2 separate regions of the Homo sapiens genome follow, and region 2 is linked to region 1. The links are contacts of gene promoters, found by promoter capture Hi-C in human tissues and cell types (Jung and others, 2019). All regions are on one chromosome and are shown on one strand. Each heading gives the region's core, a stretch centred on a gene start or on the middle of the fragment in contact. The rest is flanking DNA. Distances are from core to core; before and after follow the strand shown.

Evidence for each region. The method cuts DNA at HindIII sites, captures the fragments that hold promoters and counts their contacts. A contact is called where the count stands out against the background at its distance.
Region 2: a fragment that was not itself captured here is called in contact with the fragment with the promoter of CAPN8 in region 1 in 1 of the 25 tissues and cell types used here (neural progenitor cells).

Annotation. Positions count from the first base shown.
Region 1 is chr1:223,664,166-223,667,130 of GRCh38, reverse strand. It overlaps CAPN8 (calpain 8), which reads left to right and starts at 1,430. Exons shown (of 21, transcript NM_001143962.2): 1 at 1,430-1,721. The coding sequence starts at 1,485. The HindIII fragment of the contact is 26,634 bases long and covers 1-2,965 here.
Region 2 is chr1:223,612,718-223,615,431 of GRCh38, reverse strand. All of the region lies in intron 10 of CAPN8 (calpain 8), which reads left to right. Among named protein-coding and RNA genes, the nearest start is that of CAPN8, 52 kb to the left of the region's middle. The HindIII fragment of the contact is 3,236 bases long and covers 1-2,714 here.

The DNA.
Region 1 (2,965 bases), core at 181-2,680:
TAGGGAATCAGCATTTTGAGCGAGTGCTCCAGGGGATTCTTCTGCACACTATATTTGTTTCCTGCGTCTTCTGTAACAAATGACCACAAATATGGTGGCTTAGAACAACATACATGTATTCTGTCACCGTTCTGGAGGCCAGAAGTCCCAAGGCTGTGAAATCGAGGTGTTGGAAGGCCCACATCCCTCCAGCGGCTCTAGGGGAGAATCCATTCTTGCCCCTTCCAGCTCCTGTGGCTGCTGGTGTTCCCTGGAGTGGGGCAGGATCTCGCTAACCTCTGCCTGCCTCATTTCATCACCTCTCCTTTTTGTCTATTGTCAAATCTTCTTCTGCCTTCCTCTTAGGACACTTGTGTATTTAGGGTCAGGATAATCTTCCCATCTCGAGATCCTTAACTTAGTCATAGCAGCAAAAACCCTTTTCCCAGATAAGGGACTATTTACAGGTTCTCAAGATGAGGACCTGGTATCCTTGGGGGACCATTTTCTAGTGTGCCACAAACACTGAAGTTCAAAAAGCATTGGTGTGGTTGACATCCTTCGGGTAGACCAGATGTAGGAAACTGGAGCCCAGAGAGAAGTGACTAATCCAAGGTCATACAGCTTGTAACTCACTTCTGAGATTGGAATCAAGGCTCCTGATTCCAAGGCCTTTCTGGGAATCCTGGCTTCAAGGAATAGTGATACCTGACATTCACTGAATGTTACTTCATACTGTTCTAAGCAGATGACATGTACTATCTCATCACTCTTCCGAACAACCCTTTGTGGTAGGCTCTCCTATGCTCTTCCAGTTTATAGATAAAAAAACTTAGGAGAAAAGAGGTTAAACAACTTGCCCAACATGACAGAGCAAATTACCGGGGGAGCTGGGATAGAAACCGAGGCAGTCAGAGGCCAAAGCGTTCACTCACAGGTGGAACCTCCTCCAGTCAGGCTTATTCCAAATCTGGCCTGTGAATCACTACTCTCTGGTATTTTTTGCCTTCCTAGGAAATATGCACCAAAACATTTCTGGCAGGAAAGGAGGCCCCTGTAACTACTTGCCTTCTTCCTGCTCAGAGCCATGCCTCCAATTCCTTGATGAATATTTGCTTCAAGCTGCTCAATAAGCCTTCTCATCTCAGTCAATGGGCTTGAAGCAAGGTAAGCAGGTCTTGCAAAGAGGTGTGTGGAGGGAATGCCGGGGTGGGGTCAAGATCCTAATGGATTTCTTAGGCTAATGGCCTGGGATGGGCCCTGGAAAGTTCCCAGACCCCAAATTATTTGCAAAAGGCAGAAGAAGAAGGTGGGGCAGATTGGCCTGGACCTTGGGTACATATTTGTCCCTGGCCATGACTCACTTCCTTCTGGAACAGGGCCTCAGGTGAAATGTTTGTCTGCTCCACCTCCTTTAGTGCCTTATAGCTCCCCTCCCAGTGGAGCAGGTGTCTGAGAGTACAGTGCAGCCCTGCCCTTCTGTCCACCCTACAGAGCCCACGGCCATGGCAGCCCAGGCAGCTGGTGTATCTAGGCAGCGGGCAGCCACTCAAGGTCTTGGCTCCAACCAAAACGCTTTGAAGTACTTGGGCCAGGATTTCAAGACCCTGAGGCAACAGTGCTTGGACTCAGGGGTCCTATTTAAGGACCCTGAGTTCCCAGCATGTCCATCAGCTTTGGGCTACAAGGATCTTGGACCAGGCTCTCCGCAAACTCAAGGCATCATCTGGAAGCGGCCCACGGTAAGGAAGCGGGCTTGCTGTTGAGTGACATACAAGGTGGAGGGGCCTTACATCTGATCAGGAGGAACTGAGGGAGAAGTTGAGGCTGTGGACCCTAAGTGTCTGGATCTCATATTTCAGATCCCTCCACCACCACCTTTTTTAATTTTATTTTTTTGAGATGGAGTCTTGCTCTGTCACCCAGGCTGGAGTGCAATGGCATGATCTCAGCTCACTGCAACCTCTACCTCCTGGGTTTGAGTGATTCTCCTGCCTCAGCCTCCCGAGTAGCTGGGATTACAGGCATGTGCCACCATGTCTGGCTAATTTTGTATTTTTAGTAGAGATGGGGTTTCTCCATGTTGGTCAGGCTGGTCTCAAACTCCCAACCTCAGGTGATCCATCTGCCTCAGCCTTCCAAAGTGCTGGGATAGCAGGCATGAGCCACTGCATCTGGCCCCCCCATCACCTTTTGAACTCTTATTTTTTTTGAGGCAGAGTCTCACTCTGTCACCCAGACTGGAGTGCAGTGGTGCGATCACAGTGCACTGCAACCTCAACCTTCCTGGGCTCAGGTGATTTTCCTACCTTAACCTCCCAAGTAGCTGGGATTATAGGCACGTGCCACCACACCCAGCTAATGTTTACATATTTTTGTAGAGACAGGGTTGTGCTGTGTTGCCCAGGGTGGTCTTGGACTCCTGGGCTTAAGCCATCTGCCCACCTCAGCCTCCCAAAGTGTTAGGATTACAGATGTGAGCCACTACACCCAGCCTGAACTCTTGTTCAGAGATGGTGAGGTATAGAGAGAAGAGCATGGATGAGCTTTGGAACTAGGTAAGATAGATTTGAATCCTAGCTCTGCCTGTGTTGTTTTGGGCCGGTAAACTCTGTGAACCTTAGTTTTCTCATCTGTAAAATGGCATTTACTGGCACCTTATTTTTCAGGGTTGGTATGAGAATTAGAGATAAATCTCAGAGCATAGTGCCCAGAACATAATAGATGCAGAATACGTAGTTGTTATTACTGCATATGGTCCCTGGGCCAGTGCACAATGGAACAACTCAGTGCTGGATGCAATCAGCTGGCAGGTAAATTGTGACAACATCATTGCTGAAAGGTGCACGGTTGCGCAAGGTCATGAATTGACATTATTCCATCAGGGCTGGTGAGTGGAGAGGTGGGAGCTGGGGCTCTGTGGATGCAGACGGAAGGCAGAGGCTCCTGGATGCGGTTACTGATACTACCCAAAGCTCAAGGGCAA
Region 2 (2,714 bases), core at 120-2,619, 52 kb after region 1:
CTGCAGTCCCTGACTAATATGCCAGTTTTCCTGGCAGCCACCCCTCTACAGACTTAACAGCCTCACAGATATGTTAAAGCAAGACCTTTGTGTCTTGACAAGTCTAGCCAGAAGCAAATTGGAATCCACTTTTTTATACAGGCAAAGACTCCTTATAGCAAATTCCAGCGGGGCTCATGGTGGCCATTTTTAAATCAATTTTATTAAAGGAATTTCTTGGGAAAAATACAATTCTAATCAGGAAGACCAAGAGCTGTCTGGAGGCCCAATATCTCAGTATAAATTAATGTATGAAAAAAATATTGTAATAAGAAACCAGTAAGGAAATAGTGCAATGGTCGAGATCCTATCTGCACCCCACACTTTATTTCTCATATTCTGGAATTTAGGGCTTTAGAGTTTAGGGTGTATATGTGCATGTGTGCACATGCACGAGCATGCGAGTATATTTTATGTTGAAGAATGGGAGTTGGAAAATAATTGCTAATTGATGGCAGGAGAAAGGAATTGCAAATAAATAAACTCCAATTCTACTCCAGTGTGGCTCTTTCATCTCCACCTAGAATGTAAGTAGCACAAAGCCAGACTCTGTTTGAAGAGATAAAAACCTGAGTAGGCACTTAGTGTATGCGCATCAATTCAACAAACTGTAGTGAGCATCTATTATGTGCCGGGTGCTGTGCTGAAAGCTGAGGACATGGAGGATTATCACATAGTTACTGCCCTCAAGGTGCTCACAATCTGAAGTGGAAAGTGAGATGCACACTCCACTGGCAACAGAGCAGGTCAGATCTGCTGTGATGGGGACCTGACACAATGGGCTGGGTTCACCTCAGCTTCATCGAGGAGGAGATTTTGATGAGAACCTTGAAAGATGAACTTGATTTCAAGGGAGAACATTCCAGCCAAAAGGACATTTCTTGGCAGCTTGAAAGTTAAGTGATGGTTTTGGAGAGTCAATAGTAGGTGGGCATGGCTGCAGGGTGGGCTACTCAGTTCTTCATCCATCAGGCCTACCTTTTTTTTTTTTTTGAGACGGACTCTCACTATGTCGCCCAGGCTGGAGTGCAGTGCTGTGAACTCGGCTCACTGCAACCTCCGTCTCCCAGGTTCAAGCAATTCTCCTGCCTCAGCCTCTTGAGTAGCTGGGATTACAGGTGCGTGCCACCACATCTGGCTAATTTTTGTGTTTTTAGTAGAGATGGGGTTTCACCCATTTTGGCCAGGCTGGTCTCAAATTCCTGACCTCAGGTGATCCACCCGCTTTGGCCTCCCAAAGTGCGGGCATTAAAGGCGTGAGCCACTGCACTCAGCCAGGCCTACCTTATATAACCAGACCAGCAAAGCATTCTTTCAAAGGGACTGAAATAGCTTTGTGTGGCATGACATTTGCGCTCATAAATAATATATAAAGCATATCAGTTTTTTAGTCATCAAATTATAGCTGCTTATAAAATATTCCAGTGTGTGTGATCTGTGGTCCTTCTATATCTGGCCACAGGCATATAATTTAGAGCATGACATCCATAAGTGAAAACAGTTTAAAAGTCAGGTTAAGAGGGTATCAGAAGTAGCTGGGGTTATAGGGAGTAGCTGGGGTTGCAGGGAGTGGGTGCCATATTCTCATTCCTGTATCTCCCTTCTCTTGCTTTAACTGGAGTTTGGATTGAGGATGAAAACCTGCTGCTGACTGAGAAGCAGCCAGGTGCCTCCAAAGACTAAAGAGCCCTCCTTGTCTGGCCTCCTCTCTCTCCCCTCTATCTTCCTGCAGTGATGCCAGGCCAGCCTGTCATTTGCAGTCAGGATCCTGCATTTGAAAGATGACTGTTTCTTTCCATCCACCCATGGGCAGTGGCTAAGGCCTGCTCCCTTACCTCGCTGCTCTGGATTTGTGCCACCAAGAGGCCCCACCTGCCTGGCTCAGTTTCTGCTGGGTGATTCTTGGTAGGGTGGATCTGGAGCATACTGATGGCAGCAGAGGTGGTCAAGTTGTTTGTGGAAAGACGGCCCATGTGGTTGGGCAAGCCCCTGCCAAGGGTGTGTAAAGGCTATTAGGCCAGGAGCTGACAGGAAGATACTTGTGAGGCCTCTGCATGGGTGATTTTGGTTTTACACTCAAAATTAGAGGAATGACTGTGACCCTGGACTCTTCTACTTCTGCTGCCAATGACCCATGGGGGCTCCAGAAGTGAGCATGCCAGCTGATACACATTTTCTGTAATATTGTTGTTTTTCAGAGTTATAGGCAGTTGACCATAGACCTAAACCACAAATAATGGATGGTCTTCTGGTCAAAAGGGCCTATGTGTCAGGGACAAAGAATGGAAAGGGACAAATTATGGGGTCTGAATCCTCTTCTCTAGCCTGGCATAGGAACCCCAGGCATGGGAAAGCTTCTACTCTGGATCTGAGAGCTACTCTCTTATGGGAGTCAACACTTCCAGTTGCATATAATAAAGCCCAACTCGAGCTAGGCTAGTGAAAATAGTGTACCAGCTCATGAAACCAAATTAAGGGAAGGAGATGAAGGCTTGGGACAAGGGACTTGGATACTACCAGGATTCTTTCTTTCCACATCTCCTCTCTAGTGCTGATGACATTGTGCTAGTCTAGATTTCTTCATTCCCTAATATCACTAGCATTAAGAAAGGAGTCCCTTCTGTTAGTTCCAATTCAGAAATCCCAGAGAAGTAAGTCTCTGATGGGCTCAGCTT